Linked DNA regions of Homo sapiens: regions 1 and 3 are each linked to region 2. The links are contacts of gene promoters, found by promoter capture Hi-C in human tissues and cell types (Jung and others, 2019). All regions are on one chromosome and are shown on one strand. Each heading gives the region's core, a stretch centred on a gene start or on the middle of the fragment in contact. The rest is flanking DNA. Distances are from core to core; before and after follow the strand shown. Region 1 overlaps POLN (DNA polymerase nu). Region 2 holds the start of TNIP2 (TNFAIP3 interacting protein 2). Region 3 holds the start of LETM1 (leucine zipper and EF-hand containing transmembrane protein 1).

What was found. The method cuts DNA at HindIII sites, captures the fragments that hold promoters and counts their contacts. A contact is called where the count stands out against the background at its distance.
Region 1: a contact is called between a fragment that was not itself captured here and the fragment with the promoter of TNIP2 in region 2, in 2 of the 25 tissues and cell types used here (lymphoblastoid cells and mesenchymal stem cells).
Region 3: the fragment with the promoter of LETM1 here is called in contact with the fragment with the promoter of TNIP2 in region 2 in 1 of the 25 tissues and cell types used here (spleen).

Annotation. Positions count from the first base shown.
Region 1 is chr4:2,213,902-2,218,028 of GRCh38, forward strand. The region is part of intron 3 of POLN (DNA polymerase nu); the gene reads right to left. Among named protein-coding and RNA genes, the nearest start is that of HAUS3, 26 kb to the right of the region's middle. RefSeq lists a silencer at 1,581-1,875. The HindIII fragment of the contact is 4,456 bases long and covers 1-3,681 here.
Region 2 is chr4:2,755,072-2,758,657 of GRCh38, forward strand. TNIP2 (TNFAIP3 interacting protein 2) reads right to left here and starts at 1,265. Exons shown (of 6, transcript NM_024309.4): 1 at 943-1,265. The coding sequence starts at 1,218. RefSeq lists silencers at 808-867, 888-1,407, 1,588-1,727. The HindIII fragment of the contact is 11,459 bases long and covers 1-3,586 here.
Region 3 is chr4:1,853,610-1,857,610 of GRCh38, forward strand. It overlaps LETM1 (leucine zipper and EF-hand containing transmembrane protein 1), which reads right to left and starts at 2,547. Exons shown (of 14, transcript NM_012318.3): 1 at 2,260-2,547. The coding sequence starts at 2,341. RefSeq lists silencers at 1,013-1,189, 1,984-2,173, 2,184-2,743, 3,144-3,363 and enhancers at 1,755-2,256, 2,894-2,963, 3,633-4,001. The HindIII fragment of the contact is 14,961 bases long and covers 1-4,001 here.

The DNA of each region.
Region 1 (4,127 bases), core at 204-2,703, 540 kb before region 2:
TTAATTTAATAAAATAATTTCAAAGTACGAAAAGACAAGAAATGTAAGCTTAGGCCGGGCGTGGTGACTCACGCCTGTGATCCCAGCACTTTGGGAGGCTGAGGTGGGTGGATCACCTCAGGTCAGGAGCTCGAGACCAGCTTGGCCAAAATGGTGAAACCCCACCTCTACTAAAAATACAAAAATTAGCCAGGTGTGGTGGCAAGCACCTGCAATCCCATCTACTTGGGAGGCTGAGGCAGGAGAATTGCTTGAACCCGGGAGGTGGAGGTTGCAGTGAGCCGAGATTGCGCCACTGCACTCCAGCCTGGGTTACAGGGCAAGACTCTGTCCTGGGAAAAAAAAAAGTAAGCTTAAAAAAGAGAGAGAGAAAAGACCTCTAGAAGAGAACAGACAACCCAGAGACTGATCCCAAGACTTTATATACAACAAAGATAGTATTTCAATTCAATAGAAAAGGATAGATTAATTAATAGGGCTGGTATAACTAGCACCACATCAAAAAGAAAATAAATGCATTGGGAAAACTATTTGGAACAAAAATGACAAAGGGTTAACTGCTATATTATACAACAAGTTCTCATACATTTACAAGATAAGACAAACAATTCAACAGAAAAATGAGCAAAGAATAGGAAGAGGCAATACACAAAACAGAAAACCCAAAGAGGAAACAAATACAATACTCAGGGAAACGCAAATTAACTATAACTGGAAACACAGGGGAAGAGGTAGTCTCATGTATTGCTGGTAAAAATGTAAATAGACTCTTTCTAGAAGGCAAACTGTCAAGACTTATTAAAATTAATAATGCATACATCACTTTGGGAGTTGGGTGGAGAAAGTGACCCACAGGGAGCTCAAGATGGGCCTCTGGGAATGCTAGTTATGTTTCCTGAACTGGGTTTGGGTTTGTGAAATTTTGACCTAAACTAAACTTAGGATATGTGTGCTGTTTTATATATATACACACACACATATACACATACATATACATATATATGTATATACATATACATATATATGTATATACCTCAGCCATATATATATGAGAGACAGAGTGCTCTTGCCTTAACAAAAACAGATAGGAAATAATATCCATCATCTAACCAAATAATCTCTAACCAAATAATCTCACTCTTGGCTGTTTCACAGAAATATATGCAACAGTAAACAGGTTTAAACCAAAATGTTTATAGCAGTATTGCTCATTATGGCAAAGGACTGAAAATAAAGTAGATACCAATCAGAAGAAAACTGAGGAATAAATTACATAATATCCACATCATGAAATACATAGCCACTAAAAAGAATGACCTTGTTAAAACATAGATTGCAGGGGGGAAAATGACTCCAGCTATAGTGGTTGACTGAAGATGATGACCTCATTTTTAAAAATAATGACCAAATCTCCCCGCTTATGCACACGAAGATGTTACGCACATAACACTCGGGTACCCTGGGAGACCACCTCTGTGATGAAGGTTTGCATTTGAAAAGGTGATTGGAGAGTGAAGGAAGCAGAATCCAACCAAGGAAGACAATGGCTAAGATGCAGTCACTCAAAGGCCTGCCCTGAGCTGAGCATGGTCCTACAGATGTGTCTCCCAATGGGTCAAGACAGCTGGGCTTTTATACCCCTGCACAAACTAGTCACTGGACCAGTCACTCCTGGGGAAGGGGTGGGCCCTTGGGCAAAGAAGTTCTTTGCAGCCAGGCAATCAGGGAGGGGCTGTCCCAGGAGCAGGGACAGTGCTTCAGTACTAAAGGGGCATATGGGAACCACAGTGCTTGCTACACTCCACACTGCACTGCTCATAGCCACTTGCTTCAGGGACGTTCTGGGAGCAGCTCCTGTAGGATTCTGGCGGGCCTTTTCCTTGGGAAATTTATAAAAGGAAGGCACTGGGATGAACTACATCTTGCTGCAGCTGGCCTCAAGGTTGCAAATTACATTCATCTCCCTCCTCTACTGCCCATGCTAACTCCTCACCCTTGCCTATCTCCTCTGCTGCTCTAGGTGGCTTAGCTTACCTGATCAGGTAACCCAAACCCTCATCCCTGAGAGGTAAGCCCCTGGCCACCATGCCCTTCTCTGGCCATAGCCCCAGCATTTGCCATCAAATTTGGGCAGGGGACCATGAGGTGGCCAATCACATCACCTGGGTGCTTCCCTGCCCCCAGTTATGTAGTAACAGCTCTACCTCCACCTGACGCCCACGGTCAGCCACCCCAGAAGATGGAAATTACATTCCTTGCCAGCCAGTCTCTTGGCACAAGGAGCTCAAAATGACCAGACAGCAGCCACAGCTGGAAATTAAATGGCGTTCTTCCTGTGCCCCTGCTGGAAAGGTTTTCCCTTTGAGAGTCAAGACCTTTAAACCTTAAGAACCCAGAGGAGTGTGAGGGAGAAATACAGATTTCTAAGTGGGTCACTGGGAGTGATGACTTTCACCTTTTGGTTCCCAGACCCATTTATTACACAAACCAAGGACACTGCACCACGTACTGGTTAGTGATTTGCAGTGCAGACTGCACCCTGGAGGTGACTGCTTCATCACAGGTGTCACCTCCAGGCTGCACACGAGGTGAGCTGTGCCTTCCACAGACCATCCTGCTGCTCCATCAGGCTGGCAGCTTCTTGGTGTGTGGCTGTGAGGGAGACAGTGAGTCCTACTCTCATGTGCCCACTGCTGCAGTTCCTTGGCTGAGCGCAGGATCCTGTGGATCAAACACTCTGTGAAACTTGGGTGATGGAGCTGACTGAATCCATGAGAATGGGAAAGGCAAACCCATGCCTGTAACGTGTGTTGGTTCTGGCCAAGATGAATCACTGTACCTTCTAGGGCACAAGGGGTTCAGTGTTGTCAAATGACTGTTTCCCTCCAAGGAAGGTACAACTGGGGACTCAGTGTTTGGTCTCTGTTGCTGGAAGATTGGATGTTCTGCAGAGAAATAGCTAGGTCAGCTCTGGTGAGGGGGAGCCCCATGCTATGGGCCATGCACAGCATCTACCCACCCCATGATTACTCCATGAGAGAGCCCAGTGTGCCAGCATGGGCGCAGCAGATGGCAGAGGCTAGATGTCAACTGGCCAAGTCATCCTATTAATGTGGTGGTTTGGTGTGTCCCCATGGTGAATGTTCTTGGGTGGGAAGTACTTCGTGACTGTTCCCACAGATCCCTCCACATGCCTTACTCCAGGAACTCCCTGATCTTCCAATCTTTCTCATTCCAGGTACCTGAGCAACCTGTCAAGCCACTAACCGCTGCCCAAGAGTTCCAAATGTGTTAACACTGGGGCCACTTCTCCTTCCACACAAAGTAGATAGTCAAGGGGCACCACCCAACGTTCTACCCATTGGGTTTCCCTTGAGCACTGTCTTCCAGGGCTGCCTAAATCAGGCTGTTCAGAGCCCACCCACCATGAACCAAGCTCTAACTTTTCCTGCCTCCATCAGCTGGTCTTAAGGCTGCCCCCGTCAGAAGTACCAGTGCCAGCACCAATGATGTCATGGGTTCTGGGCCACATGAAAAGCTTGGTTGTGCCTGCTTGTACCTAGTACTAAATGAGCCACTTCCAACTTGCAATGGACAGCTGCATGCCCACCTCTCAGTGGGTCTGACAGAACCAGCTCATGCTGGCAGTTCTGGCTCATGGTCACTTGATGTCACCATGGCCTCACGCTCCATCTCTACCAGGGCCCAGTAGCATGACAGTTTTGTTTTTGAAAAATTTATAATTTGTTTCTGCAGATAGCATTGCCTTGCTCCAGAGTTCTAGGAGTCTGCATTGAGATTCTTCTGTTGGGGCTTTGCCTTAAGCTTCACATGGCATCTTTCCCCACTACAGATACCTCTAACATCACAAGGTCTGTTGGGTTGGAAGTCCAAGTAGCTGAGCCACTTGCTTCACAGCCTAGGCCTCTTACAGGATGCTTTCCTATGCAGTATTCCCAATGTGGAATATGCTGCCTCCACTCCCTAAACCCAGAGATGCCTATCAGGTGTTATGGTTCACTCTTAATGGTTATGTGGTTAACCACGTTGCAGGATGACTCGACCAGTTAACATCTTCATTCTTAATGCTTCATTCTTAAAAATGCAGTAATTTAGCCAGGTGTGCA
Region 2 (3,586 bases), core at 15-2,514:
CAGCATAGAGTTGAAGCGCCACTAGTGAAAGACACATGCATGGGTGAGGGCTGGAAGGGACTCTAGAACACAATATGAGTACACGACCTTGGACCCAAGACACACATGTGTGCGTACACACACACACCATACACACCCCTCAGAATGTGTCTCCCGCACACACACCTCAAAACACCCCTAAGAACCAACCGGAACATACACACTACACAATACACACAGAATACACACAGCATACACACACCCCCCTCGGAATGTGTTCCCACACACGAACCTCAAAATACCCCTAAGAGCCCACCTGAACATACACCACACACACACAGAACCCAAGAACTGCACCAACCCCCCTCCTCAGAACCCAGTGCCTCCTCACCATCCCCCAGGACCCAGTGCCCTCCCAACCCCCCAGGATCCAGCATTCGCTTATCCCCTTCAGAACCTTGCACCCTCACCCCGCAGGACCCAGAGCCCCCTCACCTCCACCAGCACCTGGTGACGCCTCAAACCCCCCAGGACCCAGCACACCTCAGCCCGTGGTGTCCCCTTATCCCACTCAGGACCTGGTCCCCCTCTCTCCCCTAGGACCCAGGGTCCCCTCACCCCCCAGAAGCTGTTGCCCTATCACCCCCAGGACCCGACGGCCCCTTACCCCCAGGACCTAGTGTCCCTCAACCCCAGGACCCGGCACCCCCTCAACCCCCAGGACCTGATGCTCCCCCAACCCCTCAGGAGCCGGGGCCCCCTCACCCCCAGGACCCGGCACCCCCTCAACTCCCAGGACCTGGTGCTCCCCCAACCCCTCAGGACCCGAGGCCAACTCAACCCCAGGACCCAGTACCCCCTCAACCCCTCAGGACCCGGGGCCCGCTCGCTCACCCACCCAGGACCCGGCGGCCGCCACACGCACTCTCGCTCCCGCAGCTCCTCTGGTACCCGCCCTCGTACCTGGCGCATCTGGGCCTCGGCGGCGCCGCCCTCCTGCCTTCGCAGCTGCTCCCGGAAGCGCGCAACCTGCTCCAGCAGCGCGTCCACTAGGGACGGCGCGGCGTCCCCCTCCAGCGCGGCCAGGCGGGCGCGGAGGCGAGCGATGAGGGCGTCGCGGGCAGCGAGCTGGTCCTGCAGGCGGCGCAGCCGCTGTCCGGCCTCGTGGTACAGGGTGCAGAGCGCGGCAGCTGCGCGCGGGGCCTCCTCCCAGCCGCCCGACCCCGGGTCCCGGGACATGGCTGTAGGCCCGCCCGGGAGGCCGCGCGGCCGCCGGCAACTTCCGCGCCCGGGCCCCGCCGGCTGCCGCCCTTCCCGGAACTTTCCCCGGTGCGCCCCGCCCACCCACAACAGCCCGGCCCCGCCCTCCCCCACGCAGCCCCGCCCCCCGCGCAGCCCCGCCCTTCCCCGCGCAGCCCCGCCCGACGGCAGCCCGCCCAGCCCCTTCTCGCCCGGCCCCACCCCTCCCACCGCCTACAGCCCGGCCCCGCCCCTGCCGTCCGCACCCGTCCGGGAGAGTTGGCCTGGCCCCCGAGGCTGTCCACACCCCAGCTGGTGCTGGGCTTATTCCAGTGGCCCCAAACATCCGCCTCTGAGGAGTTGTCGGAGAGTCGAACTCAGCCCAGGAGTTTGGGGATTCATCAGCCTCTGATGGAAAGGAAGGGCTTAACGACAACCCCCAAGCTCTGGAGCTAAGTGTGGGTCTGAATCTCCCCGCGAGGGTCCAGGCCTTGCGGCCACAGCAGCAACAGAAGCTCCAGGAGCTGAGCTCGCAGCGCACCAAGCACGTGGCATGTGTTCCGTCACCTGGGGACACTGAGCCCAGAAAGAGCTCCAACCCCCTGCCCCGCACGCCGCTTTCTTTTTTCTTTCCTTTTTTTTCTTCTTTTTGAGACGGAGTTTCGCTCTGTTGCCCAGGCTGGAGTGTAATGGCGCGATCTCGGCTCACTACAACCTCCGCCTCCCAGTTTCAAGCGATTCTCCTGCCTCAGCCTCCTGAGTAGCTGGGATTACAGGCGCCCGCCACCATGCCCTGCTAATTTTTTGGTATTATTAGTAGAGATGGTGTTTCACCATGTTGGCCAGGCTGGTCTTGAACTCCTGACCTCAGGTAGATCCACCGGCCTCAGCCTCCCAAAGTGCTGGGATTACAGGCGTCAGCCACTGCAGACGCTGCTTTGTAAGGTGGCTAGTATGGGCCCACGGGACAACCTTCCTGCTAGATGCTGTTCTTATATAGCAGAAGCAGCAGGAAACCAGCCCCTTCCCACCCTTTCGCTTTTCCATCCCTTTCCTTCCCCAAAATTCCCAGACAAACGCTAGTGTTTTTCCACAGCCCAGTCTTCCCCACAATGATGCCCAAGCACACATGGGGTCTTTCCAAGGTTCCCTACTCAGGATAGGGCAGGGGTCTTCCCTGTGTGTGCACTTGCCCACAGGCTCCGCCCCTGAGCAGCTTCTTGACTTTCTTCCCTTATGTGATCCACAGCCAAGCCTGAGCTGAGCCTGGGAAAACACAAGCTTGTAGAATCAGACAAGCCTATAAGCAAAGCCAGAGCCACCCAAGTGCTTATGGCCCGGACATTGGGCTACACAGGCCTGGCTTTGCTATGGAAGGCTCCTTCTTACTCATCAGAGCCTGGGCTTCCTCTCAGCAGAAGGAAGGGCAGAGCGAGTGCCCACCCTACCTGGTTGGGCTGTTGTGGGGACTAGAGGGTGGAGTGTGCATGGAATGCTTGTCCAGTGCAGTGGCTGCTGCACAGCAAGCCTACAGTCCCCATGGCTATGGTTACAAACAATGCCTATTGATTGTCTGGGGCATGAGTGGAAAAAACAAAACTGGACCCAGAGCTGTTAGAGGCTAATGTGTGGCCTGGGGCACGTCATTCCAGTGACCTACCTTGAGCCTCTGCCTCAACTGTAAAAGGTGCATGTGACAATCCACAGTCTCTCATCCAACAACAGCCTTGGGGTCAGGTGTGGTGTATTGTATTGTATTGTACTGTACTGTATCGTATTGATTTATTTTAGACGGAGTCTCAATCTGTCGCCCAGGCTGGAGTGCAGTGGTGTGATTTTTGGCTCATTGCAACCTCCGCCTCCCAGGTTCAAGTGATTCTCCCACCTCAGCCTCCCAATTAGCTGGGATTACAGGCGCCCGCCACCACGCCTGGCTAATTTTTTGTATTTTAGTAGAGACGGGGTTTCACCATATTGGTCAGGCTGGTCTCGAACTCCCGGCCTCAAGTGATCCGCCTGCCTCGGCCTCCCAAAGTGCTGGGATTGTAGGCGTGAGCCACCACGCCAGGCCGCCATGTGTATTTTAGAAATGAGGATCTTTGGATTTCAAATAGGTACATATAACTGGGGGAGCCAGCTTTCAAAGAGGATCCCCTCCTTCCAATATCCATGCTCCTGTGTAGTCCCCTCCAATCCACTGGAGAGGGCTGACCTGGGTAACTAAGAGGGTACTGCAGAAATGATGGAGTGTGACTTCTGCAGCTAGCTCCCACAAGACATCACGGCTACTGCCTTGCCCTCTTTCGGAGCATTCTCTCTGGGGGAAGCCACCCACCCTATCATCAAGTAACCCTGTGAAGAGGTCCAT
Region 3 (4,001 bases), core at 1,297-3,796, 900 kb before region 2:
CAAGAAGGGTGGTACAGATGGGTCCTGGGACAGAAAAAGGACCTCAGAATGGAGAACGGGAGAGTAAAGAAAATCTGAATATGTTATGGACTTTAGTGAACAGTAACAGATCAAGGTCAGTTCATTAACTGTGACAACGAACCCTACTCATCTAAGATGTTAATAGCAGGGGCCTGCAGCACTCCACTCGGTGTATCACTCATCAGTTCAGGGACCTCCTCCACAGTCCAGCCCTGGGTCTCGCTGGCTCTGAAATCCCTACTGTTTCTACAGCAGACCTGCCAGTGTCCCTGTCACAAAGCACAGTAGTAACTACAGAAGACATTTGTGTTCCTGAAATGACAGAATCGCACATAAAAAGCTAATTATTATTATTATTTATCAAAAATCTGATAATAAGCACGAAGTGTTAAAAGTACTTTTATCACCATCAAGAGGTCCAGAGAGAGCTCTAACATCTAACACAGCAACTGGAAAGACCACATGCTGAGCTCCACCTTCAGACTGTGCAGTTCCACCACTCAACATCCTCTCACCACTCCAAAAGTTTCAGTGGCTAACCAGCCATTATTGTAAAAATTACAAGAATTGGCCAGGCGAGGTGGCTCACGCCTGTAATCCCAGCACTTTGGGAGGCTGAGGTGGGTGGATCACGAGGTCAGGAGTTCAAGACCGGCCTGACCAACATGGTGAAACCCCATCTCTACTAAAAATACAAAAATTAGCCAGGCATGAGGGTGTGCGCCTGTAATCCCAGCTACTCAGGAGGCTGAGGCAGGAGAATCGCTTGAACCTGGAAGGCAGAGGTTGCAGTGAGCCGAGATCATGCCACTGCACTCCAGCCTGGATGACAGAGCGAGACTCCATTTCAAAAAAAAAAAAAAAAAATTACAAGAATTGGGGGCCGGGCGCGGTGGCTCACGCCTGTAATCCCAGCACTTTGGGAGGCCGAGGTGGGTGGATCACCTGAGGTCAGGAGTTCGAGACCCGCCTGGCCAAGACGGAGAAAACAGTCTCTACTAAAAATACAAAAATTAGCCAGTCGTGATGGCGGGTGCCTATAATTCCAGCAACTCGGCAGGCTGAGGTAAGAGAATCACTTGAACCCAGGAGGTGGAGGTTGCAGTGAGCCAAGATCACACCACTGCACTCTAGCCTGAGCAACAGATTGAGACTCTGTCTTTAAAAACAAACAAACAAACAAACAAAAAAAAACAAGAATTGGGAGGATACATTCAGGGCAACTTCAATCTATCTCTTTGGGGGTGGGGAACAGAGACAAGAATATTGAAGCTGGGTGCCTGGGCATGGTGGCTCCTGTAATCCCAGCACTTTGGGAGGCCAAAGCAGGAGGATCAGTTGAGCCTTGGAGTTCAAGACCAGGCTGGGCAACATACCAAGACCCTGTCTCTACAAAAAAACTACAAAAAAAAAAATTAGCTGGGTGTTGTGTGGCACAACTAACAACTTGGGAGGCTGAGGCAGAAGGATAGCTTGAGCCCAGGAGTTTGAGGTGCAGTGAGTATGATCGCACCACTGCACTAATTATTTTACTTGAGTCCCTCTTAGCAAGTTTTATGTTTATTCCAATTTTACAAATAAGGACATAGACTCAAATAAGTTGGTTAATTAGAGAGAGAGAGGAGGTGGGCACACCCTGGGACAGCATTCACTCCAGACAGCACCTGAGGCTAGGGGGGCTAAAGCCACGCACCCTGAGGACCCTCAGCGGCTCCGGAGTCCCCGTGTTCCCCGGGTGCCGGTCGCGGCCTAATCACACCACAGGGGTTTGTAGGTGCTGGCATCACCTCATCAGTGACGGACCAGGAAGGCTCCTGCAGCCCAGCAGGTCCTGCTCGCCGGTGTCTGCCCTGCCCACCCAGTCTCGTCTCCGGGACCCCAAACGTGACCAAAGGGCACGGCCGTCCTCGTGCGTGGACACGTTCCACCAAGCTTACTCGCGCAGGGCGCGCCAGGGCTGCCCAGCCCTTCAGAATTTTCCCACTGTCTCTGAGGCAGTGACCCGGGGGACCCGGCCGCCTAAGGTCACAACACACGGCAGAGGCCCAGCGGCTCCGCCCGGCGCTGGCGGCCCAGCCCGCGACGAGACCCGGGGCCCCACGGTCCCGCAGGGGCTCCGGAGGCCGGGACCACCGGGCTCCCCGCATCGCCGTGACAACCAGCCCGAACCCGCGGGTCGTCCGCGCTCCCGACCCACCAGCCGGGAGCCGGCCCCGCCCTGGGGTGCCCGCCGCTTACCCCGCGGGACGGTGTACCGAGGCGGCGGCGGGAGGCGGGCGGGCGCCCGGCCGCGGCAGCTCCTCAGTAAGATGGACGCCATGTGCTCGGGCGCGGCGGCCGCTCCGGCCTCCTGCGCTGCCTCCTTCTCCGCGGCGGCCGCGGCTCTTCGCCGTCCCGGCGGCGCTTCAGACCCGGCCCGCGCGGACGGCTGACAGAGGCGGCTGGCCTCGGACGGGAGGCGCTCTCCTCAAGGACCCGGCACCAGCGGCGGCCTTGTCCCGGCACAGACGTCCGGAGGCGCGGGGCGGGGCGGCCAGGCCGCGGCTCCCATTGGGCCCCTCAGCGCCCGCCGCTGGCCAGGTGAGGGGCGGACCGCGCCACCGCGGACTACCGGTTCCGGCGTGCACCGGGACGGCCTGCACGCTGGGGTGCGGACTACCGATCCCGGCGTGCACCGGAGCGGCGGACTACCCTGAGGCGCGGACTACCGGTCCCGGCGTGCACCGGGGCGGCTGGCTCCTGGGGCTCGCTGCATCCTGGTTCCCGTCGTACCGTGGACGCCGGGGCTCGCAGCGTGGCGGCCGCAGGAGCTGAGGGAGTCGGCCGCGCTTGCGCGGGGAGTGTCTTTTCGTCTCCGGGCGGCGGCAGCAGCGCGTGTGTCCGGAACTTTTCTGGGACTAAGTCCTGCACCCACGAGTAGAAAACGGCTCCTGGGAGCTTGGGGCTCCAAGGGCAAGTCAGGGGACGCTGGGGATGGAGGGGCGCCCTCGACGCCCTCGGCCGCGGTCCCTCGCCGGCCCCCCTGCTCTGTGGCTCTGCCCTCGGCGGTCTGCACTCTGGCGCGCGCAGCTCTGAGTGCCTCTTCCCTGCGTACCGGGCGGCGCTCCCCAGATACGGCGCTGCTCGGCGTCGGGAGTCCCCGTCACCACTGGGGGGACGGGAGCGCAGGGTCCCGCCCCGAAGGACAGGGCCATGCCGGCCCCTGGAGGCGAGGGCACTAGGCCGGGTGGCGGCGCAGCCAGCATAGCGGCCCCCCATCCCGGCACACCGCGTCCTCCCGTCTGAGCGGGAGGGGTAGATATGGGTCCTGCGTTGGCGCGGGGGGACCCCTCGTTTCGCTCTGGCCTAAGCAGCCCCTGGGGTCCCGCGCGCCGCAAGAGCGCCAGACTTCCTAACCTGGGCCATACCCTGTCCGCTCCACTTCCCAGTCCAAGAAGGAACAGCCGAAGCCCAGGACGCCAAGGACCTGGCTCGAAGTCTCCAGAATTCCCGCCAGAGCTGGGCTGGGCTCGCGGACCGCTCATGCGCCGTCTCCCAGGAGCCTCCCCCCAGCCCAGTTTAATAGCCGGCCCTGACCAGTCCAGGGGAGAGAGACCGTGCAGCCTCCCAGCAGACCGTGACCTCTGAGCTCCACCTTCCCCTTCCTTCCCTAAGATGAGGATCCCTGAGTTGGGGCAGAGAAAGCAGGCAGGGAGAAAAATGGGGACCTGCGGCGCTGGGGGCCCAGCTGGTGGAGATCTCCAGCTAGGAGATCCCCAGCACAGCACTTGCCCTGCCCTCTGTCTTGTTCAGGGATGTAACCTGCCTCCTCCTGCTTCTCCGCGGCACCTCAGGGCACCGCCTGGGGAGGGTCTTGTAGTGCACACTCAGCATCTCTGTTCCCTGGAGCGCATGGGGTGTGAAACGCCTGATGCCAGCCAGCTCCCCAGTCTTGAGAGGCTGGTTGAATGGCACATCTCCCTAGGAGGCTCCCTCCCCAG